Regions from separate parts of the Homo sapiens genome. Here regions 1, 2, 4, 5, 6 and 7 are each linked to region 3. Evidence: promoter capture Hi-C in 16 types of primary human blood cells and fetal thymus (Javierre and others, 2016). All regions are on one chromosome and are shown on one strand. Each heading gives the region's core, a stretch centred on a gene start or on the middle of the fragment in contact. The rest is flanking DNA. Distances are from core to core; before and after follow the strand shown.

Region 1 (3,903 bases), core at 680-3,179, 2.7 Mb after region 3:
GTTTTGGAAAAGTATGTGAAGCTTTTAAAATTTATTGATCATGAGCAATTCTAACTGTACATACGGTATATTGAAAAGGGAATACTTTTTATAGTCAGAGCTGAGTTTGGAATCCTAGCTCCTCTAATATTTTTGGATATGTGACCAAGGGCAGTTCCTGAGTGTCACCAATCTTCAATTTCCTCATTGGAACATAGGAACAATAATATTTATCTTGCCTGGCTTTTGTGAGGATTATAAATAACGAACGTAAATACAAGCCTTTAATAATATACAATAATATATTTGTAATATATTCTGTATATAGGAAGTACTCAAAAAGTCAAAATTATTATTTACTTGATTCCCATGCTTCTATATAGTAAGGAATTCATTCATATATCCAATAACTATTCATAAGAACTATTCATTGAAAGGCTACAATATGATAGGAATAAGACTAACTTATAAGGATATCGTAATAAGAAAAACAGAAAATCTGCTGTCGTGGAGCATGCACTCTAGTAAGGCAGACAGACAATCTGTAAATAACCAAGTGGATGTTCATTTTATTGTAATAAATGTTATGGAAAACAATCTGAGTGATGGAGGAAGGGCAGATTTTGTGCATAAAGTCAAAGAACTCACTCACTGATACCTGCATGACAAGAAAAATGAGCCATACAAAATAAAAGTCAGAGGAAACACCTACTGCATTTTGTTCAGGAATCAGAGGGAAGAGCAGCATGTTTGGAGCCAGGTGAGGAAACTGAACTTGTGAGCAGATCGGAGAACTCAGTGAGGCCGGAAAGGTCAGAAGGGCCTGATGATGTACTTTCTAGGTCATGGCAGTAGTTTGGATTTTACCCTAAATACAAAGCTACTAGAGAGTTCCAAGCATGGGTGGATTGTGATGTGATGTGTGTCTTACAAAGATTACTGTCTCCTGTATAAAGAATAGGTATACAATTATAAAACCAAAGCAAGGAGGCTGATTAGGAAGCTATTGGATTAATCCACAGGCAAGAAACATGATAGCTTGAATTAAGATGGTAGCAGTGGAGATAGAAAGCACTAGACAGATTTTAGATACCCTTGGGTGATAAAGATAACAGGAGTTGGCTATAGAGTATAAGAGAAAGGAAGGAATTAAGGAATGACCCCTAGAGTTTGTGTTTGAACAACTGAGTCTTATAGACCAAGTGAGGTATAAGTCTTTTTTAGTGGGGGTAGGGGAAGTTTAGGGTTGGGAATCAAGAATTTGGCTTTGTACATGGTATGTTTGAGGTCCTTATTAAAAAGTTTATTGGAGACAAGTAGCAGTTGGAATATGAGTTTAAAGCATGGTATAGATGTGAGGGCTGAAGATATAAATGGGAAAGTCATCATAAAGTAGTTGGCATTTGTGGCCATTTAGAGTCATCTCCAGATGACTATTATCAAAGGATAGCAGAGTTCTAAGGACAGCATTAAACAGAGGGAAAAACTCATAGAACTAGAAGAAATTTAAGAGGCCAATATTGTCATTGGTAAGGATTCTTTAACAGAAAACCCACCTACTTTTAATATTTCATACCCTGTATATTCAAAATTGAGAAAATTGGGTGGTTATAGGATTAATTAAAGAAGACTTTGTTTTCTCACATTGTCAGTGTGTTGACTTTCAACCTTAGACTTACTCCCATGGCCACAAGATGGCTACAGAGTCTCGAAGTATTGTGTCCTCACATTATAATACATAGAGGCAAGCCTATGAAAGTGGTCCCTGTCTGTGTGTGCGTGTGTGTGTGTGTGTGTGTGTGTTTTAAGAATAAGGAATACTTTCCCAGAAGCTCCCCTGTAGGCTTCCATACATGTCTTATCCAGAATCAGTTCATGTCGCCGGTAGGGTCTACCATGATAATGATAGACAAACACATTTGAAAGAAACTAATGGATTTAACCAGGTTATTTATATGGAATTTACATTGCAGTGAAACTTCATTGCTATGACTTGGACTATTATTTACTAAATAATTACTATTGTATTTATATTAAGGAATACTGATATTTACCATTTATGTATACAGAGTTCCTCAATTTAAAATCACATCCACTTGAGTATGTGTGTGTGTGTCTGTACATTTGCATGTATAAAAGAAAAACAAAATGTAAACATCATTTCAAGGTGAATTAAATTACTTTTAATTTCTCTTCCCATTCCAATAGTCAGTATTTCTAAAAATCAAAGATACAAAGATAAAAATGCTTTGTATTTGTAAGAATATGGCCTGCTTTCGTTTAAGCAACTATATGCCTAAAAAGGTCTTAAGTCAATTTAATAAACTATATTTGTCTAATTTCTGTACCAAATCATTATTTAGTCTTCTAAATAATAGTCCTACCTAGACCTATATTGGTCCTACCTAGATTCCCAATATTGTTTTCATATCAGTTGGACTATTATGCTAACATTATTGCTTTATTCAGAGAGAAAGAGCATTAATTTACATTCTCTACAATGACAACATCATGCAGACTATAGAGTAACTCTGGGAAGAACTTCAGTTAAAAATGCTAATCAGATGCCCGTGGGGTGACTTGGAGGAATTATTTAATTAATAGCCTTTTCCTAATTACTACTTAGGAACAAATGTCTTTAAATGTAATCATTCACCCACTTTATTTATTTATTCTTGCTGTCTATGAATAATACAATTATATTGTAATACCAACAGTTGAAATTGCAAGATCAAGAAATTAGAGTGACATAGGTAGAATTGGCTTCTATTTAATAACATAATGATGGTTATTTAGCTAGAAAAAAAAAGCACTGTTTTTGAAGAGGATCCTTACTATCTATCTGTAGGTACCTATCTTCACTACAGCAGTATGTCATTAATGATTAAAAACTGTCGTAAAGTTAAGCCTAGAAAGAGGAAAGAATAGACTTGATTGTGCTTTCTGTGGGCCAGGATTTGTGCTAGGCTCCTCATATTTTATTTTATTTAATAATTTTAGTCGTCAAAAATAGTTACTGCCATTTTATAGATGAGAAAACTAGGTTCTAAAAGTTTAAGTGATTTCTTCAAAGTATTTTTGGGTAGTGTAGGTATCAAAGTTAGGATTTGAATCTGGGTTTGCCAGTCACTGACAACAAAGCCCAAATTTCCTCCACTACACAATTGCATAGAAGAAACAGAACAAATATGAAGTATGTCAGAAGTAACCAACCATGAGCACTGTGTAATGCTAGAACCAGAAAAGCAGAATTCCCAACCTTTCTGTGTTATTTTCCACTACTTTGCTCTTTCTCACTGGGCTTTGGCTGACTTACCCTTCCCACTGTTCCCTTTACTTAGAATATTCTTCCCTCCATTGTTTGCTTGACCAACTCTTTCTTATCCTTCATGTCTCATTGCATTAGTCATTTTTTGGAGAGTAGGGGACTTTGCTGAAATTTTTAGATCCTTCTACTAAAAGTCACATAGCACTATGTTTTTCTTCCATTGAATGTGTCATAATTGCAATGATACAGTTACTTGAGTGATCAATTGTTTTAGTCAGATTGTAAACTCCATAAGGCAGGGACAGTGTCTGTCTTATATACAATGTTTTTTTTTTGTTTTTTTTTAGCAACTAGCACAGTGCCTGACACATAGCTAGCTAGTTGATGTTCAATCAGGAAGGAATGAATAGATGGCTTATATAGCTTGCTGGAGATCTGTTTTCAAGTAAGATATTTTAAAATTTTATTTTATAAAATAATTTTGTCCTTATGTTTTATAGCCTATATTATGAAATATTGGGAAAAACTTTATACTTATGTAGTAGCTAATAGGTAATAGAAACCATTGGCTAAATGAATGCATTTTCAGACAAGCTTTATAAGTGATTTGATACTTGCCAAGTGGCCTGTTTTGTGAATCATTTAAGTACATACCA
Region 2 (4,162 bases), core at 715-3,214, 2.8 Mb after region 3:
ACAGAGGTATGGCAGCATGCAAAGAATAAGAGAACAATTTCTTGGCATTAAATGTCAGATTGAAAGGGCTCATTGAGTACTAAGCAGGGTAAAGGGAACAATAACAGCAACTCATACCTAGATAAATGGCAGACACATTTCAGAATACTTGGAATAAGGAAAAAACCTGTTAAGACTTCTAGAGAGAAGGAATAGATTAACTTTGCAATGAGAAACAGATATACAAGTGCAAGAAGAAAATGGAATAATGTGAAAATGCTGAAGGAAAATGTACCTGAACCTCTTATTTCATACCCAGTGAATCTATTATTCAAAGACAAGGGCAATGTAAACACATTTTCAAACATAAAAGTTGATTCAGTCAGGATTCTTAGTGACAGAGCATAGATAACCTTGTATCTATCAAGGTTAAGCAGAAAGGGATTTATAAAAGGACTTTAGAAAGCTCACAGAACCTCTTGGAGGGCCAGAGAATGAGGTTAACAGGCTGTACAGCAGGAACAACACAGTCAGAGGCAGGGGCACTTACCCAAATCACTGCACAGGGCCATGAAGGCCCTACAATTGTATCCGCTTGCTGCTTATCACCTACGATGCTAAGAACTACATACACTGAATTCTGCCACAGCCCCCAGAGGAATTTGGTACCCCTTTCATTGTGCTTGCCCAAACATCACCTCTTTGCACTTGGCCTTCCCTTGTGATTGCACATTGCTGTCCTGAGCCTCATGTGGGAGCATCTGCTTGGTAGAGCTAAGGTCCCATGTAAATATCCAGCTTCTGGGAGGTTGGGAACACAATTTCCAGGGTGACAAACTCTATAGAACAGGAAGGCAAGCTAGAGGAGGGATGGAATCAGAGTTCAGTGAGCCAGACTACAGTATCTAGAGCAATCCAACAGAAGATAGACAATTAAAAAGAATCATGGAAAATTGGATGCACAAAATAAGAGAGGAATAAATCTAAACATATTAGTAATTGCAGTACATGATAATATATTAAGTTTATTAAACAACAGATTTGCAGACTTAAAAACTTAGTCTCAGAAGTTTCCAGAAAAGTAGATATTTATGTATGAGGCAACTGTTTATAAAAAGAAAGCATGTATAGTAATTGAGATGATAGATACAATAAATTCAAGATGAAAATCACTAAAAGTGCAAAAAAGGACAGCTCATATTGATAACAGAAATAATATATCAAAAGTATCTGAGCCTTTATATTCAATATTGTTAACTAATTACTTAACTAGCTAGTTCTTAAACTGGGAAGACTTTATAGAAAATTATAGCACTGAGGGCTCAAATGAAAAAATGGAACTTATGTCTAGCATTGCAGAAGTTTTTTTTCTGTTTAGGGGAATATGTAATTATTGGGCAGACATGCAGAGCATTAAGGCAGGAAGAAAAAGGCATAAAGCAAACAGAACAAGATCATATGTAGAAACTGACTGTGGACTCTTACAAAAAAGTTCAAACTGCAGCTGACCTGACCCAAGCAAACTGAATTTCCCAGAAGAGAGCCACATAACTTGAGCAGAAAAAGAAGCAGCAGGATTATTCAGTGAGGAGAACAAGAAGTTTATACAAAAACTTTGTTGTATGGGATTTATGCCATACTATCTCTATTTATGCTTCAAGCTACTGTATAGAAAATATATTTAGTTTATATTCCAGAATGTAACTTCATTTTTCTCAATCAGTAAATAAAGCTATCCTTAAAATTGAACAGTGTTTTTTTAACCCATCCAAATATTAATTACCAATTACATGATTGAATAAGTTTTTTTTTTTCTACAAAAAAGGCTGTAGTGTAGTCAGACTTAATTTTCTTTTTATTTGAAACTTCTTGCTTCACAAATGTCACTAAACACCCTAGGGTCAAGCTGGAATTTACAATCATTTTAGCAGTTTAATATTTTGGTAGGAAAAAATAATATTTCTCCAAAAATTGTCATGTTATACTTGGGAAGTTCAGAGACTGTTTCTGTGCCCCCAGTTCTCAGAGCATCCTTGTCACCTGGTGGAATGCTCTCCTGCTTGCTGTTGATAAACTGCAGGGCGTCAGTTGAGCCTCTTCCCTTTAGGTTACTGTTTGAAGGTCCGCCTTGTAGGGAGTCACTGTGATCAAGGGACACAATTTAGCATCTGATAAAAATCAGAGCATGGTAGAAGTTCAAATTTCCGTTCCCTTCATTTGAAGGCATCTGTGTTTTACAAGTCCCTTGTCAAATGTGGCAGGTAGCAGTTGAAAGGATGTCTTCCCTTCCCGCTGCCAGTTTTATTAAGGTAGAGTTGACAAATAAATATTGCATATATTTACAGCATACAATGTGATATTTTGATATATGTTTACATTGAGAAACAATTGAATCAAGCTAAAGAACATATCCATCACCTCACATACTTATTTTTTTAAGATCTAGTCTCCTAGCAAATTTCAAGTATACAGTCCATTGCCATTAATGATAGTCACCACGCTAAACAATAGGTCTCCAGAATTTTTCATCAAGAGGATGGGTTTTAAAATAACGTATACTAGCATTTTAATCTAGACTCTGCTACTTTGTGGCTATATAAATTTAAGCAAGTCATTTACTCTCTCTGAGCCTCAGCTCCTAGTCTGTAAAGTAGACATAATAACAACATTCAGTTGTCAGGATCAGATAATGAGATAATGAGTGTAGAGTACCTGACGCAGTAGCTATTAAAATGAAATAGCTATAGAAGTCCTTGAAAATAATTTCTTAAACAGTTAGCTGGGAGACCTCCTAAATATCTTTATAGTTGTTTATCTATTGATGGTGAGTGGAGCCTCAGGGACCCAATGAGAGAAAAAATAAAATTGAGGATTAGAGAAGTAAATTGGAGCCATTCACCTACAAGGACCTTACCACTGATTTCAGGTCTCATTTTGAGTATTTTGACAATATGAATTTAAGCATTAAAGCTGAGCCTTTAGGGGTAGCAGTTCCCCTTCCAAGAACTTTTTCAAATGAGTTAATTATTTGCTATGAACCAGGTACCCTCTATACGCTTGGGACATATCAATATATAAGTTAAGCCAGCTAAATTGCAAAGATGTATTACAGTCATCCTTGTAGTATAATTTATGTTATGAGTCCAGCCTGAAGTACAAATAAAACACAGCTCTTATTTTTCAAATACAGTCTGATTTGATCACTTCTATGATTAAATTAGCAGCAAATGCAGTACATCTTTGGTGGGGATGAGGCTGGTGGGAGAGTCCCTCTTTCTTCTAAAATGTTTATGAAAGCTATAGGTTTAGTCAGTCCAAAAGGGGCTTTTATAACTTCCGAAAACTTTGTAGAGAAAGAACCAGAAAACATGTTCTGTTTACAGACATTTTTAAGCTGCTATTGTCACTGTTTGTTTCCTGTGGTTATTCCAAAATCTTCTCCTGAAAGGCATAGTATCAGTCTGCACAGTTGTGATGATGATGATGACATCGGTGGTGTCAGTTCAAATCTCTGTGTATGCCTGATGGATCTTCAAACAGGGCATCAGTTCACACAGCATTATTCACGGTGAATAGCACTCCATGTCAAAGCATTAGTAACAATTTATCTCTAGGCCCTGGGATTATGGATAGTTTCATTTTTTTCTCTTTGCTTATCTGAATTTTCTAATTTTTCTATAACAGCATGGATTACTTTGTATTAATATTTTAAGTCAAGAAAAGCCTATTTTAAAGTGAACTTTATCAGTTACATTTAATGTGAAATTCCTCTTCTAGAGCTGATCAAGGAGAGAAGATAAGGCATGGATATTCAGTTTAAAATGGTGAGATTAAACTTTTCCTTTATGTGCTAGTCTTTTATTCAATAAGTAATTTGGAGCACAGCTTTTGTCATGGGGAAAATAGCTGATGGGGAGACATGGATAGAAAAGGGACATGACCCTATCCTCATAGATTTACAGACTGGTCACTGGATGCTGGTGACACATGGGGATGTTTTCATTTGCTAAAGTAAAGTGGAATGATGACTTTATACTCTGCATGTGGTGGCTCTGCCATTAGACAGTAAGTTTCAAATGGCACTAAGTCAGGCATAGAGGAATCCCTCAATATTCATGGGTGTTAGGGAGAGGGAGAGAGTCTTGGTGGATAGATGCAAGATGAGGGTCAGACCTTCCTGGGC
Region 3 (4,034 bases), core at 516-3,015:
GGGCAGAAGATCTCAGGTCATTAACAGAAAAAGCTCTTTGGCATCCTGTGTCATAGAACAAAGTGTCAAACCTGTTCCCATTACTAGGTGCCTGTGGTGCTTTTCTTAAATAATCAGTCCCATTCAGACAGACATTTTAAGGTCTCTGATCATCTTTCTATTTCACAAGCAGTATTTTTTTAAGGCTAAATGGCACTAGAAGCAGAATGTTTTTAAAGTAAGGTTTAGAAAAGAACTTGGTATATTCCAAAGCTAGCCGGATTCTTTCTCATTTTCCCAAAGGTCAGACAGAAGTTCAGCTCTGACAGCATTGTAGCTGGGAATCCAGATAGAGGCAGGCAACATTTGCTCCAGCTCTACACTCCAGTCTGGGAGGCCTGGGAGCTCCTGTACAAATAGGAATCAATTTTAGGATAGCCTTATGAATCCTAGAGGATGGAATTAGACAAAGCTTTTTTTGCCCCTGCTTTGACCATTTGGCCTCAGATACGGGTGCCCCAATACTTTAATTTTTCTTCTTTAAAGTTTAAAGTTTTTAAGAAAATGAAATAGCTGGTAAGTGAAAATAGTCAAGAAAACATTGTAATTATGCTATATGTACATGTGCGTTTTTTCTGAAGTGGATTTTCAGAGACACAGTTAGAAGGTGTGCTTCACTGCTTTATTCTGCATATGCCCCAATGAATTCCAGGAGGTCACAGCAGCAGAGTACAACTTTTAAGATTAGAAGAGCTTGCTCTTTAAAGAGTTATTTTTAGCTGGAAGGGAGAGTGTAGACCTCAAAGTGCTGGTAGGTATGTTCTACAGTGGGGATCTAATTTGGAGGTCTTTGGAGATCTGATTCCAGGGGAAGGTCTCAGTGGGGCTCCTCTTGCCTCTGCTGCAGGACTGGGTGGCTCTGCTGATTGTCACTGCCTTGTTTGAGGGGTGGTCTCCATCATCCAGGGGAATTCAGCCTGGGACCTATTGTCTAGAGTGTACATTGTATCTAGGCCCAGACCTGCCAGAGTGTCCACAGCCACACTTGAGGAAAGGACATTCCAGACTCATTAAATATCACAATTCGATTTTGATGTCACTAACTCAGGTTCCTGAGATAAATTTCCATACAATTCCTACAGATTGATATGGATATGTGCATCACCCCAGGAGAGGCTCTGGTGAAGGGCAGGCTTGGAGATGCAATGGGCAAGGTTGGGGAAGAGATACCCTCTTCCGGGTTCCGATTTGTGCCCTGAATTTGGGCAAGCTCAAGGAGCACTGGCAACCCCACCAGCACCAGAAGAAGCTGGTCCTGGCTGTCTCCCGAGACTGGTGAAACTGCTCTGGTGGTGGTGCACTGGAAGGGTGGAGGAAAAAAAACAAAAAACAAAACAGGGTTTGAGGGGGAATGGCAGGGACACGGTAGAGGCACAGAGATACAGAGACCTAGAGTCAGAAATCCTGAGTGAGACACACAGAAAGGCAGAAAAAGGCAGAAAGATGCTGAGGGACAGAGACGCAGACCACAAGAATGACAGAAGAAGGAGACAGAGAGAGAGAGGGAGTGAGAAAGATACTGAGAAATAGGGACAGTAAGGGAGAGACTGAGAAAGACAGAGACAGCCAGAGTCGGAGCACAGAGGCCGAGTCTGGGAGACGCTGGTTGAGTGGGAGGTGTCAGTAGCGAGGGAGGTGGTGACGGCTCGAAGCATCCCCCGTCCTCCTCCTCCCCCTTCACGCTCAGCCCAGCCGGCGGCGAGGAGTCCAGAGGCCAAGGTCGCCCAGTCCTCTCGGCTGTCTCGAGCTGAATGGCTGGCAGTCTGCGGCTCCCCCGCCTCCGGCCCGGCAGCCACAGGTCGGAGGCGCCCGGCGTCGGCGCTCGAGGCCGGCAGGGGCGCCCTGCACCCTCCCGCGCCCTTCCCCGCCCTACGCGACTCCCGGCTGCTCTTCCCGCCACTCCCCTGGGCTTTGCGATCTTCCCTACGCCCCCCGGGAAGGGGGCGCTGCGGCCACCGAAGACACCGCGGGAGCCACTTGTCCCTGTGGGCCCAGCCCGCGAGAGCCTGAGAGCCGGATCTGTTTACACAGGGTACTAATTAGTCTTTGAGGAATCATTCACCCACGTGCCAAAGTAATTGTCCGTGTCAGGAAGGTAGGCGTGCCAAGCCGCGGCTCTGCGGAGAAACCACGACCACCGCGGCCGCCGGAAACCCAAAGCGCTCCAGAGCGTCCCCGGGTGGCCGGGCAGCACCAGGGACAGCGCCCGGGACTCCACTGGGGACCGGCTCCTGGGCTTCCCAGCGTCGCGGGTAGAGGTACAGCTGCTCCGTGTGCCGCAGGCTCCAGATTCTCGCCACCCCACCCCTCCCTCAGAAACTCGGACTGCTCTCGTCTGCCGTGTGGTTCTCTTTTCTTCCGAAAGGCCAGTGTCTTATCTCTCCACTTCAAGTCCAGAGGACTTGCTCAGTCTCCTCCCCTTAAGTCATTTCCACCATCCTCAGGCAGCTGTGGGAAGCCGAGAGTCCTGGACTGTTCGTCCGGGTGCCAGCGCTGGCAGTCCCAGTCCGTCCGGTGCAGCAGCCCGGCGCATTCCCCTCTCTCCCTCCCTCTTGCTCTCCCTCCCTTTCTGTCTTCCTCTCTTTCCTCCTCTACTGCTCCCTCCCTCTCTTGCCTCTTAAGTTTCCTGCACCGTGAATCCAACTGTGCCAAGCCTTGGCTCCCGCGAACCAATCCTGAGCGCGACCCGGGCACTGGGACGGCGACTCCGCCAAAGCTGGACGAGGCAGCCGGACCCGTCTGCGCTCGAGCATGGAGACGGAGCGCCTGGGAGGGCACGTCCGGGGCGCTGGAGACGCCAGGCCCGAGTAGCTTCTCCATGGAGCCTGCCCAGAGCGGTCCCTTCTCGCAGGATTCGCCCCAAGTCCTGTGCGGTACGTACCCTTTGCCTCCGCTGTTCCCGGAGGGTACACCTGGGAGCGGGGTGGTGGGCACGAGGAAGGGACGGCAGGGAGGGGCGCTGGTTAGGAAAGAGAACAAGCCTGGCAGGTGACCCTCACAGCTCGGAGGAGGCTTCTTCTCTAGAAGTTAGCGACCGGCTGTACCCTTTGGCTCGAAAAAAGTAGTGCTAGAGATGTGACTGTGAGCATTCGTGGGTATCTCTGTGTGCGCCAGGGGTTCGAATGGGTAAACTGATCCCTGCTTTCCTGTATGCAAATTGCATTCTCTTTCCCCACCCCCACTTCACCGAACGTGTTGAGGTACCTAGCACCTAATCGCGGTCAGTTCTACCTACCTCTTCCTCTCACCGCGCCCCCCTCGCTCAATCTCTCTCTCTCCCTTTATCTTTCCCCTCTATCTCTCTCTGCTGGTGTGTACGTGTGTGAGCACTGCCAGGGCTGGCGAAGAACCAGCCGCCGCCTTTAGTCCGAGCCGCCGGGCCACCCAACACAAGGGCAGGTCTCGCTGCCGGAGAAGCCTGGGCTCCGAACCAGCCTGCACGCGGCTCAGTGTGCTCCGCCGCCTGGGAACTCGCACCCGAGGAGCGCAGGGGGCAAGGAGCCCCTCACCCTCCCTCTCGTCCGCCCGCCCGCCTCCCCAGCTGCGGACCGCGCGCTTGCTGGTCTCAGGCGCTGGATTTACTCGCTTTTCAATTTTTCGTACCCTCCCTCCCTTTTTTTTTTGGTCCCCCACTCCCCGCTACGACCCCCTTTCCCCGCTTGATTGTCAAGCCTAACCTTGCCCGCGTAGTCATGGGATGTCTAATTTTATTTGCATCTAGGCTGCTGAGAGCGCTCCTTGCTCTGTAAAGTGGATGTCAGGTGGATCTATGTTTCTGAAGGAACAAAGACTCAAAGAAGGCACCGCCAAGGAAGTTTGAGACGCGGGAGAATGCAGGCTGCGTGCTGGTACGTGCTTTTCCTCCTGCAGCCCACCGTCTACTTGGTAAGTCTTGGAAGGTTCGGGGCTTTCGCATTTTTACCCCGGCCGGGAGGCAAGGAAACTGGGGACACGCGGGAGAAGGGTTACGCCGCCAGTTCAGTGAGAGCAGCTTC
Region 4 (3,897 bases), core at 1,063-3,562, 2.7 Mb after region 3:
AAGTCTTAGAATGCTACAAGATTATGTGACTGTGATTAAGCCAGTCGCTTTATTTGAGTCAAATGTTTCATATTTTATATAGAATGTTTTACATATTAATCGGCTCAGGCTGCCATAACAAAATATCTGAGTGGGTGGCTTAAACAACAGAAAATTTTTTTCTCACAGTTCTGGAAGGTGGAAGTTCCAGATCAAAATCCAGCAGGGTTCAGTTTCTGTTGAGGACTGTCTTCTGGCTTGCAGATGGCCTGCATCCTACACGGCCTTTCCTTTGTGCACGCACAGAGAGAGGGAGGAAGTGAGTGAGCCTCTGGCATCTTCCTGTAGGGACATTAATCCTATCAGATCAGGATTATGATCTCTTAACCTTAATTCCATCCTTACTGCAAATACAGCTACCCTGGGAGTTAGGGCTTCAACACAGGAATTTCGATGGGGTGGGGGAGGAGGGACACATTCAGTTCATAATACATTTAAATAAAGTCCAAGTACCTCTGTTATAATAATTCTGAGCTATGTTAAGGAGCACTGGAGCAAAATCCCAATGAAATGTCTATGGCAATATAGATTAGATGTATTTAGGGAGAGTCCTTATAAACGTTGATAACTGGGATATCTATCTATAAGTCGATTTCTAAAGAAGACAAACCACTAAAAAAAAAAGGAGCTGTTTTGTTTACCTCTTTATCCCTATTACCTAGCTCATTTTTTGGCCTATACTAGGTGTAACACTGTGACTGTAAGTCAGCCTGTAACTTGCACTGTAGAATACCCTAAGAACAAGAATTTTATGATACCTGTATAATTTTTACTTACTGAACCGAACTATCTTCTCTTCATGCTAGTTATTTGAGTTGTATTTCTTCATACCTTCCAAGAATTTAAAAATAAAAGAACTTTAAATGAGTATTTGTTTCTATCATATTTAGGAAAAGCATGGTTTTTTAAATTGTATCCAGTATCATACTCTTTCCTCCAGTCTAGGGAACAAATAGCAGAAGCGGGAAGGGATATTATGCTACTCTTGAATGGAAATTGCTGGGCACTAAGATGCTCAAGTTTTTTAAATCATTCAACAAAGCTTTAGTAGGACCTACTATAAGATATACTGTTCTGCTTATCACTGGGGATTCAATGACAGACAAGCTTACTGTGCTGTTACGGTCTTGAAATTCTTAGCTTTTGAAAAAGAGACCCCATGGTTTTATTTTTCACTGACCTCACAGATTACGTAGTAGATACCACTAATGTTTATACTCTTTAAGTCAATTTTATTGGAGTATATTTTACATAAAATTCACTCATGTTGTATGTGCAATTCAGTAAGTTTCAACAAATACATATATTCATGTAACCACCTCTCCAAGATATAAAGCATTTCCATCACCCGAAAAGCTTCTGTCCTTCAGTTTTGCAATCATTTACACACCCCCACTATAGCCACCGATCTACTTTCTTTATTTGTTTTCCCTTTTCTAAGACTTTATACAAATGGAATTATATCACACACATCTTTTGTGTGTGGCTTTCTTCACTCAGCATAAAGTTTTGACATTCATCCAAGTTATTGCATGACTTCATTTCTTCTTATTGCTGAGTACTTTTCATTGTGTGAATATACTACAATTATACTGTGTGAATACTACTACAATGGAATATATACAGATGGCCAAAAAACACATGAAAATATACTCAACATCATTAGTTATCAGGAAAATGCAAATTAAAACCACAATGAGTTACCACTGTATACCCGCTGAAATGTCTATAGCTCTGTTATCAGCTATATAAACAGCAGCTATTAAAAATGTGTAGCTATTGAATACTTGAAATATGACTAGTCCCAATTGAGATGTGTTGTAAACATATAAATCAGATTTTGGAGCTAGAGTGCAAAAAAAAATCCATAATTTTTACTCTGATTACATGTTGAAATGATAATATTTTGAATAGATTTGATTAAAATTTTAAAATAAATTTCAACTATTCTTTTTAAATTGTGGCTACTAGAAAATTTGAATTTATATATTATAGTTTCCATTGTTTTCCCACTGGACGGGCCTCCTGGGCTATAATTTGAAGGCCGATAATGAAATGTTGGTAAGGTTATGAAGCAACTGGAACTCGTCATACATTGTTGGTAGAAGTGTAAAATGATACATTATTTTGGCAAAGAGTTTGGAAATTTCTTATGAAGTTAAACATACCCTTAATATACGACCCAGTAATTCCACTAATAGATATTACAAAAAGAAATGAAAGCATGTGCCCTCACAAAGATTTGTACATGAATTTTTTTTAAGATCTTGCTATGTTGCCCAGGCTGGATTTCAACTCCTGATCCTCCTACCTTGGCCTCCCAAAATGCTGAGAGTACAGGCGTGAGCCACTGTACTCAGCCTTGTACATGAATAACTTTTTATTATTTTTTTTTTTTTGAGACGGAGTCTCGCTCTGTCGCCCAGGCCGGACTGCGGACTGCAGTGGCGCAATCTCGGCTCACTGCAAGCTCCGCTTCCTGGGTTCACACCATTCTCCTGCCTCAGCCTCCCGAGTAGCTGGGACTACAGGCGCCCGCCACCGCGCCCGGCTAATTTTTTATATTTTTTTAGTAGAGACGGGGTTTCACCTTGTTAGCCAGGATGGTCTCGATCTCCTGACCTCATGTTCCACCCGCCTCGGCCTCCCAAAGTGCTGGGATTACAGGCGTGAGCCACATGAATATTTTTAACAGCTTTATTTATAGTAGCCCAAAACTGGAGCTAATTTCTTTTTCTTTTCAAGTAAAAGTCCCACTTCATACTGGTTATTCTTTTCAGAAACCATTTGTCACACTAAGCTGTGTGGTGTAGTTCACAAAATTAGGGTTTGACCCTTGATATTTTAGGGGGGATATTTGATGTGTAATATTTATAGCACCAGTGTAAATGTTAGAATCACTGTCTATAAAACATGTTAATGAAAGACCTAAAAAAACTAAACAATATACAAAATTTTTTACAAATCCAACATTCAAAAACTAGTCAGTTCATATCTAGAGGCAAAAAATAAAAATAGTGTATATCTTATTTGAAAACATTTAATGTAGTTAAAGTCTTTAAATGATTTCACATTGTTTTAATGGTCTTTGAATGACCCTTGCAGTTAGAAATACATTTAAACTCAATTTTAAAATTATAAAATTATAGCTATATCTTCTGATAAATTGCATCTACTTTCCTGGGGATTAGAAAGCTTGAATGAGGGGAAAAGCAGAGGTGTGTGCCCAGTTGCTCCAATTTTAAGTCTATGAACAATTTTGAGTCTATGAACTGCTTTAGGTTTCATTTTTATACATACCATACCAAATAGGACATACTCTTCTCAGGATATAGTCATTTTTCATTTGTGACTTTCTAATCATCCAGATAGAATGAGGTGAGTCTGAGTAGTTTTGTTCCTCTAATATTTTTTGAAAGGGGATAATGATATTCTTATTGCTCACTTTATATATGTATATTCTTTCTGTAAAATGTTCTTAAGATTTTATACAAATGAAATTATGTTATACATACCTTTTGTGTCTGGCTTTCTTCACTCAGCATAAAGTTTTGAGATTCATCCAAGTTATTGCATGACTGTAATTATTCCTTACACTAATGATTTTCCTCTAAGCTTAAACAGTTGGAGGCATTTGATATGTCTGTACTCTCCTACATTCATTATAAATTTGTCTAGTTTTTCCCAGATGCAATAAACTATTCCTCTTTAAATTGAATGTATACCAAACAAAAAAGGGGAATCTTTCCTACAACTGCTTCTTTCACATGGCTACATCAGATTTATTTTGAAGCCCGTTGAGAAAGAAGAAGTAAGTTCATTTCATTGCTTCGGCATTTCCCCAGTGCCTGGAGTCCT
Region 5 (3,927 bases), core at 46-2,545, 2.9 Mb after region 3:
CGGCACCTCTGTCTCTCCTGGATGGAGGCCTAGAGGAGTGTTGGGACTTTCCTGACTTCCCTTTTGTGGAAAGACCACTCACTCTCCCCATATGTTAGTAGAGGCCACAAGAAATGATTTCACACACAAATTTGACACCTTAGATGAATGGGCCAAATACTCAAAAAAACACAAATTACTACAACTCACCCAATATAAAACATATAATTCAAAGAGCTCTGTAACTATTAAAAAAATTGATCTTATTACTTAAAAACTCCCAAGATAGTAATATCCAAGCCCAGATGGTTTTCCTTGGGAATTCTAGCAAACATGTAAAAAAGAATTAACATCAACTGTACATCAAGTAATCCAGAAATTAGAAGAGAAGAAAATGCTTCTCAATTCATTTTATGCTATCATTCATTTATGCTAAAGTTTGAGGGCCACTGCTGTAGAATTTTGCTGGGCTATGTGTGATTTCAGGATCAGCAGCCTCAGAACACGAGAGCTGTTAGGATTGCAGTAGCTCAGACCCCACCCAGACCCAGGTGCAGCGTCACCTGGAACTTTTTATGAATGCAAATTATTTCTAACTGATTTTATGTAAATCACGAACACTGAGATTGAACAAGCCCTCCAGGTGATGCGAATGCAGCTTAAATTTCAACCATGGCTACTAACCGAAAAAAGCTAACTATAGACCAATATCCCTCATAAACATAGATGTAAAAATCCTCAATGAAACACTATCAAATATAATTCAGCTAAAAAGAATTAGACACCATGAACAAATGGGATTTATTCAGAGAAGGCAAGTCTAGCTCAATATTTGAAAATCAATTAATGCAACCTACCATTTTAGCATGGTAGAGAAAAAAGTCTTACGCTTATAGCAAGCAATGCAGAAAAAAGCACTGGACATTCACCCATTCATCACAAAGACTTTCAGAACAAATAGAAATAAAGGGGAATGTTCTCGATCTGTTAAAGATCATCTACAAAAACTCCACAGTTAATATTTTACTTAATAGTGAAAGATTAAATATTTTCCCCTAGGATTGGCAACAAGATAAGGGTATCTGCTCTTATTATTCAACATAGTACTAGAAGTTCTAGTCAGTAGAGTAAGACAAGAAAGGGAACTAAAAGGCATATTGGTTGGAAAGGAAGAAAAAAACCTGTTCCTACCTTAAGATGGTATAATTGTTCATGTATAAATTCCAAGGAATCTACACAAAAATTCCTGGAATGGATAAGTAAGTTCAGCAAAGTTGCAAGATTCAAGATAGGCCTACAAAAATCTATTTTATTTCTATACATCAGCAATAAACATGTAGAAAAGCCATAATTAAAAATAAAATACCATTTAAATTTACTCCAAAAAAGAGAAAGAAATACTGAGGTGTAAATATATCAAAACATAAATAGGACTTGGAGACAGAAACTACAAATACTGATGAAAGAAATCAAAGAAGATCTAAATAACTGGTGAGACATACCATGTTCATAGATTGGAAGAATCAACATAGTAAAGATGTCAATTCTCCAAAAATTGACACACAGGCTGAATGCAACTCCTATAGTTCCAGAAATATTTTTTGTGTGTATATATATAAAGATTATTCTAATATTTAAATGGAAAGTCAAAGAAACTAGAGTAGCTAAAACTATTTGAAAAAGAATAAATTGGGAGGAACCAGTCTACCGAATTTCTACAGTAATTGAGACTGTGTTATTGGTGGAGGGATAGACACATAGATCAGCGGACAGGATAGAAAACCCAGAAGCAGGTCCTCAAAATTATGCCTGATAGATTTTTTTTCAAAGATGCAAAAGCAATTTGATGGATGAAAGCTAGCATTTTCAACAAACTATATTGGAGCAAATGGGCATCCATAGACAAACACTGATGCAAGTCTCATACTTCGTATAAAAATTAATTCAAATTGGACCATGGACTTAAATGTAAAACTATAAAATTTTGGAAAAAAAATAGGAGAAAATCTTTGAGATCTAGGGTTAAACTTGACACCAAAAGTATGATCCAGAAAAGGAAAATTGATAAATTGAGCTTTATAAAATTAAAAAAAAAAACCCTTTTCTCTGCGAAAAACCCTTTTAAGTGGATGACAAGGTAAGGTACTGACTAGGAGAAAATATTTGCTAACTACATGTCTGATGAAGGATTAGTGTCTAGAATATGCAAAAGCTCTCAAAACTCGACAGTAAAACAAAAACAAGAAAATGGGCAAATGTCAAGAAGAGATACTTTACTGAATGAGAAAAGCGGATGTGAAAAGATTTCCAACGTCATAAGCATTAGGAAAATCAAATTAAAATATCAGTATACACCTATCAGAATGGCTAAAATAAGAAACAATGGCCAACACCAAAGTAACTGTGAATTTGTATCTCATTACAGCTTGAATAATATGCCATTAATTTTCTTAATATTTTCCTTGCTATTGTTTTTCTTAATAACTGACTTGAATATCTCTTTTACTTAATAGTTTATGAGAAGCTGGCTTGTGTTGGTATTTAATATAAAATGGTTAGAGATATTTTGCTTCTTCAAAAACAATGAATTAGCTCAAGAAATGATTAAAAGTATAATCAAATAACATGAAGTTAAGCAGATAATTAAATTTATATATGAGAACATAAACCTTTTGTGCTGTTTTCAGAGCTGTGAGCCCAGGGCTGTGTCATTAGGCTAGGACAGGCAATCAGTAAACTTTTGTTAAATGGGTATGTGAAAGATCAAATAAGGGGATGAATAAAAACTGAACTTGTGGAATAAGAAGAATATTAATAGAGCTGAAAATTGTAAGACTTCCTAAGGATGCTCAGGGCTAAATTTTTTTTTGTTTGTTTTTTTAGGCGGAGTTTCGTTCTTTGTCGCCCAGGCTGGAGTGCAATGGGGCGATCTTGGCTCACTGCAACCTCTGCCTCCCGGGTTCAAGTGATTTTCCTGTCTCAGCCTCCTGAGTAGCTGGGATTACAGGCGCCCGCCACCCCACCTGGCTAACTTTTTTGTATTTTTAGTAGAGACGGGGTTTCTCCATGTTGGCCAGGCTAGTCTTGAACTCCTGACCTCAGGTGATGCGCCCACCTCGGCCTCCCAAAGCGCTGGGATTACAGGTGTGAGCCACTGCGCCTGGCCAGGGCTACATTCTTAAAGAGAATTGTACTCTTTGTCACCCAGAGCTGTGAAAATGGACAGACCAGTGCAAGTACATGTTTCCAGGGAAACCTATGAGCTGAACCAAGTATGGTCTTAGAATGTACTGGTAGAGACAGATGGATCTGCCTAATTGTTCATTTCTGGGACATTGGGCACTTTCTGGGAGCAAAATTCATCATAGGAAGGAAGCTTGCCTCTGTGACAAGTTAGTAGCATTGCAAAAAAAAAAAAAAAACCAAAAACAACAACAACAAAAAACAACTTACTGTTTATCCTTGAAATCCTTTTAACATGTGCCATAGCCTTCCATTTCAACCCCAAAATAAAACCTTTGCAGTAAAAAGTGATGTAGGTTTATTTCGAGGTGTGTTACAGGTAGCAAAACCTTTCCTGAATGCACAATTTTATATAGGAAAGGATTGCTGTGCTGTTGGTCACTGAGAAACTGAGGAGAGGGAGGGTTTCACTCCTACAGGGAAGAATGTGGGATTGTTAAAGAGTCATTTTGGTGACTTCATACATTTTCCCAATATTAATTTCCTAGAAAAGAAAGAGTAACAAATAGCATCTCAAGCTAGGGACACAGTGTTGGATAGATTGACTGTAGAGAAAGTCACTTTTTGTGAGTCCTGTTTCAGGTGGCTCTGACTGGCTTCCTTCACTTCTATGTGTGCTACAATCTGAATGTTTGTGCCTCTCCAAAATTCATGTGTTGTAACCTAATCAGCAATGAGATGGTATTAGGAGGTGGAGTTTTGGAA
Region 6 (3,766 bases), core at 265-2,764, 2.9 Mb after region 3:
GAAATACACATTGAATTTCCATGGCTGTTAAAATTTCTGGATGTAGATAACATCTTGCATTACATATTGTGTACTCAACCATTGACTTAGAAAGGAATGGTAGTAAAATTAATCCAAAACATAAAATAATCCCAAACAGGCTTTATTTAATGATGGAATGGAAAGTAGCAGCTTGGTGTAGTGGCTCTCAGATAGAAAGGTAACTCATTCAGAAGCTGGGCTGTGAAGACCTCTTGCAGGTGTTAGACATGACCAGGTTAGCTTCATCTCTTTCACTGAATGCCTCATGTAATTTCACTCCAAGTTGAGAATGGGTAATGCTGACTCTGAAGTGGATAGAGAGCATTGTGCAGGTGAGAGAGGCCAGGTTACCAAGGCCTGCTCATGGCTTCAAGAATGCCATTTTTTTTCTTGGCTTATGTGATTTCTCAGGTTCTACCCCAACCAGTGCAAATAACTAGGTAAGGAAAAAAGAAAGTAGACATAGCTCCCGGTTGCTTCTCTTGTTCTTCAACAAAATCCACCTAAAATTTGGTCAATGCAGTCTATGTGGAACTGAGAATCCTCTAGGTCACAGGAGCTTAGAGCAGGAACACCCTGCTTTTTTATTATTAGGCTGAGTGAACATGTGAGAATGTTGGCATTTATGGGCCCACCTACTACCATGTGAAGGATTCCCAGCTGAGCACGAGTCCCGTGTTCTCATTCCAGCAACTATGCCTACCGAAAACGTAAATCTACTATTCAACTTTCTGGGGGATCAAGATTCATCAGAGTCTCAACTGCCTTTGTTTTTGACTCTCCAGTTAACACCAGTGAGCACTATTCCCATATAGCCTGCAAAGCAAATAGAAGCTGAGTTTAGTGTTGCTTGCTATTGCCACAAACTCTTTGTTCCGGACTCTTGTTGTTCCCCTAAATATATTTTTTACTTCATCCAGAGACATGGCTGATCAATCAGAGACTATATTCCTCAGCCTGCCTTGTGGCTGGGTATAGTCACATGAATGAATTCTCACTGATAACATGTGGGCAGTACCAAGAGGTACCAAGAAGCTGGATCCGTGATGATGTAAGTGAGCCAGGGAGCCCGTCAGTCCTGCAGTGGTCTTGGTTTCCCTGCTAGGCACAGTAATATATGGCTTCACTGCTTAAGCAATTTGAGTTAGGATTACTTGCAGCTGAAAGCACACAAATGAAAACCGAGGTCAACTAGTTTGTCTGTGAACATTTTGTCAGGATTTCCCCCAGAGCAACTGTGACAGATTTATGCTACCTTTTCAGAACTTACAAGTTTAAGTCTATTGCCAAGTGTGTTTTAAATTTATCCTGTCGCATTCCTGCTGCTATTTAAGCACGAGTTTTATTGTCCTGTCAGAGGAGAAAAACTCTGGGTGATTTAGAGTTATTTGGCAAATCTCAGCCACTTCTATTTCAATGTTAATTAATCTCTAGAACTTTAAGACTTTCTTGACAGATCCCATTTTATAACCCTTTAAACTGGACCCAAAGCAGCTGATTATATTCTAGTGTAATTGATCTCTTTTCCTCTTCCTTAAACTATTTTTACTTGGAGCTTCTATGTTTCAAAAACTTGGGGGTAAATTATGGTCCTAACATGACTTCCAACGTCCACAATTATCTGAAGTTAGGAAAAGTCCACTTTAGCTTTCATGAGCAAATCTCCCAAGACCCTGTGAGCTTCCACCTGCTGCCTGGTGACAAAGTTAGTGTCACATGTTTTAGGCATTTGTAAATTCTAGGTATCAAATTTTGTTTTGGTTCTCTATTGCTGAATAGCAAACTGTATACACCTCTGTGGCTTAAAACAACAATAGTTTATTTGGCTCACAAACCTGTGATATAGGCATAGTTTGGTGGGGTCAGCTCATCTCTGTTTGAAGTGAAGACAGGTAAGGTGTCTCAACTTTTAAGACAACTCACTCATCTTGTCCGTTCCGTTAGTATTGGCTATTGGCTGGTAGCTCAGCCACTGTCTGTGATTGGAGGCTTGGTGCTTTTCCATATGGCGCCTCCATGGAGCTACTTGAGACCTTACAGCATGGTGGCTGGATTCCAAGAATAAATGCTCTCAGAGGGTTAAAGTGGAAGCTATCAGTCTCCTAAACACAGAATCCTTTCTACCATATGCCATTGATCAAGCAGTCACATATTCTGCCCACCTTAAAAGGGTAGGATATAGCAGGAGTAGAAAGACTTTGCAAAAGAAAAGATATTAATTTTATCCAGATTTTAAAACCAAGAAAATGGAAACACAAAGATTAATTTCCCCAAGTTTACACAGCTTGTAAGTGGCAGAACTCAACATTTAATCCAGGGAGTGAGGTCACAGACTCCTTGTTCTTAACAAGTACACTTTTATGAGAAAATTTCACAAAGAGAAGCCTTTTACAATTGACTACTATGGTTTAATTTTAAGTCTGCCAATCAAAGCCTCAAGGGAACTGGATCTTAATATGTAAATATAGGAAACACTCCCACTGGTCAGTGAAGACTGGCTTTTATTTCAGTGTGTTGATGTAACAAATTCTAACAGATTTATAAATTTTAAACTTCAACAAATTTTAAATCCTCATTATTTTTATTTTGCTTACAGCTCATCTCACTTCTGAGAAAAATTAACTTTTTATACTATCTGATTTCAAATATAATCTGATCTAATAATTTTAATTGTTCCTTAAGCATTGTTCACTTTTTCTGGGATAAAAAAATTCAGTATTTAAGATCATCTATTTTCTTCCTAGTTGTTTCTGTACCATGATGACATCTGAGTATATGGGCATGCTAAATCTATTCTCTTGGAGGTCTCCCCAAGACTATACATGAGCCTTTTTGACATTTTGAGCACCCAGGGAGAGTGGTGCATCAGATAGCTTATGCTTTTCACTGTGGTCTTCCCCTACCCGTCCCCGCTATCCATTCCTTTTGGTCTGGCATGCCATAAGCCTTTTAAGGTTGTTTTACAGCTACACAGAACCTAGCAGACGCTCTGAAATAACTCCATGAAATTGAAGTGATCTAATTAATGTGTGAAATGTCATAATCTTCTCTTCTATAGAATCTGTTTGGGTGTCTGGAATGGGGTGAGGGGTTGAAGTCTTACTTCCTTATTCTGCTTGCTTTGGGATTGCTGGCATGTGCTGGGGCATCCTTCGGAGCAGTCCTGACTAAAGGTGAGGAGTGGTTGGAGTTCTTGGGAAACAACCCAAGGAAGAAGACTACTTTTATTTTCTCAGGTTGTAGAAACAGGTAACCTGATCGGTACATGAAAGACGTCGTGGTATTTTCTTCACTTTGGGAAAATATCAATCAAATATCAATTTTAGTTTATTTAACTTAATAAATTAATGCTTTTTATAAAGTTTATTACTTTTCCCACTATCTTCTTGAACCAAAAACACATTTTAAGTTTATAACTCTTTTGATATTCCCAATTGATTTTACAAAAAATGAATATTTCATCAATTTTCTTTATTTTTAACATTGTCAACATTTAATCAGAGAACGATTCTTTTATTCTGTCTCAAGTGATCATTCTTCTGACAAAGTTCTCAATGGATCTTGGGTCCCATTAAGAGAGGGATCGTGAGGTCCTAAGTCCATTGTATCATTCTTACGCCTTTGCATCTGCATAACTTAGCTCCCACCTTGGGGACGCAGGTGAAAGGGTGAGAGGAGGGTTAAGGGATAAAAGACTACAAACTGGGTTCAGTGTATACTGCTCGGGTGATGGGTTCACCAAAAT
Region 7 (3,748 bases), core at 766-3,265, 2.8 Mb after region 3:
TTCTTTGTGACCCCCAGTTTCTAATGTAATTCATTGCAAATAGTAGATGCACAAAATACATGTTGGGTGTTGCATATGGTAACATTAATTAGTGAAGTTTATTATTTGTTTCATTCATTACAGAGAATTGGGTTGCCCAGGACTTTTTGAGTAACAAGGGACAGAAAATCAAACTAACTTGAAAGAGTTTGGGGTGAAGACCTCAGAAGCAGGCTTGAGCAACCCAATGACAGGAAGGGCAGGGACATGGCTGAGGCTGGAGGACAGCTGGTCCCAGGATTGTGGACATGCTGAGACTTTCTGTCTTTTGTCTCTGTATTGCTCTCCAGTACCAAGGCAGACTGTCTTCCTCCTCACACGGGGGAATGTGGATGCTGACAGGCTTAGAGCTTCACATCTCATAATGTTTGCTACCCACAGGAACTGAAAAATTCCCCAGCTTGAGATGAGAAATTCCTGTAGGATTAGAGGGGATATGAGGTAGATTGTGGCATTGGCCCCAAATCTTTATTTCTCCCTGAATCTTTATTCTTTGATTTTCACTGTGTAAGTTCTCCCCAGAAGATAGGCTACATTTCCCACCTCTTGACTTCATGTTTGGATGAAGTGGAGATAGCAGAGTGTCCGGCCTCAAAGGCCTCTTCTGCTTCTGCCTTGCTTTTGTTCTTTGGCTATTTCATGAGAAGGACATGCCCAGGCCAGCTCTCAGGTCCCAGGATGGGATAAGAGGCATGTGGAGCAGAGCCACCCAGCTTGGTCCAGGCTGCAGATGCTGACCCCCAGCTCACCCTAATTGCATGAGCGAGCTCAGCCAAGATCATCAGAGCTGCACAGCTGAGCCCAGCTGCCACTCATGTGACACCCAGACCAGGGAAAATAAATGATTGTTGTTTTTAGCCGCTGAGTTGTAAACCTAGAATTTTTGAGGCAATAGTTAATTGATACAAACTAAGTCTCAGGTTTGTGACTTCCTAGCTACCTGACCTTGGGGGAGGTACCTACCCATCTGTATTTCTCTCTCTACCTCTGTAAAATGGGGACGGTAACAGCATAGAATTGTTGTGAGAATAAAAGTTGTTAAATATACAATGTCTGGCACATAAAAACACGAGTATATTTTAGTTATGATGGTGATGATGATGATTACTCTTTCACATGCCCACTCACAAACAGTTGTTGCTAGGGAGGTGGGCGGGGTCCTAGGAAGTGACCTTGCTCGGGGAGGTGTTCATCCCTGGACGAATCCAGTGAGGACAGAGGAGTGGAGGGTCTGTAAAGACATTGCGGCTGGTTGGATGTGGTGGAAGAAATATTCCCCAGAAGACATGAGTGCTGATGCTAAATTAAGATGAGAGGAAGTTTGGGCAGACAAAACAAAAAAAGGTGCACTTCGAACATTTTAGTTATTTCTAAAATCATAGTTTCATTGGAAACTCTGGATCGCAACAAATGACTTCAGACACATAACATAGAGCAAGGAGCATGAGTGCATCCCATCTCCTCTGTTTACTAGGCATTTAATCTTAGGGAAGCTTGAATGAAAATAATAATTCCCATCTCCCAATGTGGTGTTAGGAATTAAATGAGATAATGTATGTAAAACAAGTGGGCTAGTCCATGACGTATAGCAGGCACTCAGTAAGTGGTAGCTGTTGTTGTGGCTGGTATCCTTGACCCCTCTGTGATGGGCTATTTCTCATTAGCTTCCACTGAAGGAGGGGAGCCTTCATGACCTTGCCTCTTGCATTTCTGGAGTTCCCTCCACTGACTGCAGCCTAAAGCACATGCTGTTAAAGTCATGTTTGTGAAGTCTGAACGTGAGCAAGGTGCATCAATTCTAGCGCAATTAATGTTGAACATGTCCATGCCTCTAGTTTTTCAAAGGTGGCAGCCTCAGAAGAAACCCTGTGATATCTGACCTGGAAATCCTTTTTGGTGCAGAATCTGAATTGCAAAGCTGTTATTAAAACCTGCAAATGATCAGCAGTGGTAAATGGGAGACGTTAACTGCCTGTAACTCTCTTTGTCTCTCCTTGGCTGACACTCCTGACTGATGCTGGGAAAATGGCGAGCAGCTCGCTATGCTGGGCTGTAATTAGTGTATGCCTGGAAGTGCAGACCTTTTCATAAATAGAACTTTGTGGGGAATTGCTCATTATTCCCGTGATTTTAGGAAATAAAGAAAGACCCCAATTAGTTTTCAATCTCAAGAAAGAAAAAGAAGCAACAAGCAGTTTTCCTCTGGCAACAAAGAGAGAGAGAGAGAACCTGGTCATACCCAGGGTTATGTCTACAGGAATCACAATCTGATGGAGTGGATTTTTCCCCTCTCATCCCCATGCATGGCAGCAAATAGACACAATCTCTATCTTGCCCAGAGAAAGATGAAGATGTGTCTTAATAGGCTGGCATTTCTGAGCACTAAAAGCAATCACCCTTTGTCATAACATGTGCTGCCATCAGGAAACTGGGGAGAACAGTTGATAGTGTTTGAATGAAAAGCTTTACCTTGAAGAGGAGATGATCAAAGAAAGTGTTTGATGTCACTATGTGGAGTTAAACTGCCATTCATAATTGTAAATATATTGTTTGGATAAATTAAAAAGTTTTCATCATGGTAAGTGTATGTTTGAACATGGGGTGTGTTGTAGTACTGGCAGAGAGGTGGGAGGGTTGTAAGTGGAGCTCAGTGGGCTAGAATGTTCTAATACATTGCTGAATTTCAGAAAAGTGGAATTGTGCACGATGGGTTGTTCTGGTGCTTGGCCACTAGTTCATCAGAGGCGACAGAAAGACATCAGCAGGCTCAGGCATCTCAGCATATCCACAGAAATGTCACTGCACTTGCTGTCCTTCAGAATAATTGGTTAATTCTCAGCCTGGGAAGGGGCTTCAGTGAACTATGGAGATGCTGTGATCACACAGCACCAGTGGTCCCGGCACACAGGGGTTTATTCCAGTGGCTTTGCAGGGAGTACATGATCAATGGCTGTTTTTGAAAGATCTTGATTTGGGGTAAATTTACTTTCCCATCATGAATGCCATGCTATCAGAAAGACAAATTAATTTAACATGAGTGACTTAGTGCTCCCTTATGAATTACTTTCCAATTGTTTTTAATAGCATCTCTTTATCTCTAGCACAAGAAAACACAGTTGACCTTTAACAGCCTCTTTTATAAATGAACCCAATTGCAGTTCAGCTTTCCCACTTTCAGATCTTTATCTCCTGGCACCTTGAATCCAAACTCATCTGGATGCAGGTCCAGCTGTCTCTCTAATGGTATCTATCCATTAATTAAACACTCTGTGCTTAACAGCTTGCACACCAGCAGCGTAAAGGATGAGAAGGCAGTTCTCCTTTAATCTACAAATATTTATTTTCTTTTGGGAGGATTGGTTGGGAGAAGATTAAGTGTACAGGAGGATGACCAGCTTATGGAGAATATGTATGTTTTGGTGGAAGTTTCCTGCCGAGTCACATCAGGTGCAGTTCGTAAACAGGAAGGCTGGCTCCTATTCCCTGCAATCATAAATTATGAAATACCAGTTAAAACAAGCATCTGGACTGAGGAATGTGTCTTTGTCCTCTCAGTATTTTAATGAATGCATGTGAATGAGTTTACAGGGAAGAGTGAATATAACTCAAATGGAATTGGACTCTGATATTTATGGGCTCCTGTCTGCACAGGAGCCGGGTCATGGCTTGTATATTCTTATCTTGCCACAGAGCATTATGGGGGAATCCT

The links. The method cuts DNA at HindIII sites, captures the fragments that hold promoters and counts their contacts. A CHiCAGO score of 5 or more calls a contact.
Region 1: a contact is called between a fragment that was not itself captured here and the fragment with the promoter of NXPH1 in region 3, in 1 of 17 cell types (endothelial precursors). The highest score is 5.8, in endothelial precursors.
Region 2: a fragment that was not itself captured here is called in contact with the fragment with the promoter of NXPH1 in region 3 in 11 of 17 cell types (total B cells, activated CD4 T cells, total CD8 T cells and 8 more); the score reaches 26.8 in total B cells.
Region 4: a contact is called between a fragment that was not itself captured here and the fragment with the promoter of NXPH1 in region 3, in 6 of 17 cell types (total CD8 T cells, total B cells, naive B cells and 3 more). The highest score is 8.7, in total CD8 T cells.
Region 5: a contact is called between a fragment that was not itself captured here and the fragment with the promoter of NXPH1 in region 3, in 10 of 17 cell types (total B cells, naive B cells, M2 macrophages and 7 more). The highest score is 22.2, in total B cells.
Region 6: a contact is called between a fragment that was not itself captured here and the fragment with the promoter of NXPH1 in region 3, in 3 of 17 cell types (naive CD8 T cells, total CD4 T cells and total B cells). The highest score is 7.9, in naive CD8 T cells.
Region 7: a fragment that was not itself captured here is called in contact with the fragment with the promoter of NXPH1 in region 3 in 10 of 17 cell types (naive CD4 T cells, naive B cells, total CD4 T cells and 7 more); the score reaches 20.2 in naive CD4 T cells.

The regions. Positions count from the first base shown.
Region 1 is chr7:11,152,191-11,156,093 of GRCh38, forward strand. All of the region lies in intron 17 of PHF14 (PHD finger protein 14), which reads left to right. Among named protein-coding and RNA genes, the nearest start is that of PHF14, 180 kb to the left of the region's middle. The HindIII fragment of the contact is 3,820 bases long and covers 20-3,839 here.
Region 2 is chr7:11,223,262-11,227,423 of GRCh38, forward strand. No RefSeq gene overlaps it. Among named protein-coding and RNA genes, the nearest start is that of PHF14, 250 kb to the left of the region's middle. The HindIII fragment of the contact is 5,086 bases long and covers 1-4,162 here.
Region 3 is chr7:8,431,844-8,435,877 of GRCh38, forward strand. NXPH1 (neurexophilin 1) reads left to right here and starts at 1,766. Exons shown (of 3, transcript NM_152745.3): 1 at 1,766-2,912; 2 at 3,761-3,924. The coding sequence starts at 3,871. RefSeq lists enhancers at 2,330-2,877, 2,878-3,425, 3,426-3,973. The HindIII fragment of the contact is 6,580 bases long and covers 450-4,034 here.
Region 4 is chr7:11,171,695-11,175,591 of GRCh38, forward strand. No RefSeq gene overlaps it. Among named protein-coding and RNA genes, the nearest start is that of PHF14, 200 kb to the left of the region's middle. The HindIII fragment of the contact is 1,839 bases long and covers 1,394-3,232 here.
Region 5 is chr7:11,322,896-11,326,822 of GRCh38, forward strand. No RefSeq gene overlaps it. Among named protein-coding and RNA genes, the nearest start is that of PHF14, 350 kb to the left of the region's middle. The HindIII fragment of the contact is 4,116 bases long and covers 1-3,353 here.
Region 6 is chr7:11,354,499-11,358,264 of GRCh38, forward strand. No RefSeq gene overlaps it. Among named protein-coding and RNA genes, the nearest start is that of PHF14, 380 kb to the left of the region's middle. The HindIII fragment of the contact is 8,274 bases long and covers 1-3,766 here.
Region 7 is chr7:11,203,107-11,206,854 of GRCh38, forward strand. No RefSeq gene overlaps it. Among named protein-coding and RNA genes, the nearest start is that of PHF14, 230 kb to the left of the region's middle. The HindIII fragment of the contact is 970 bases long and covers 1,531-2,500 here.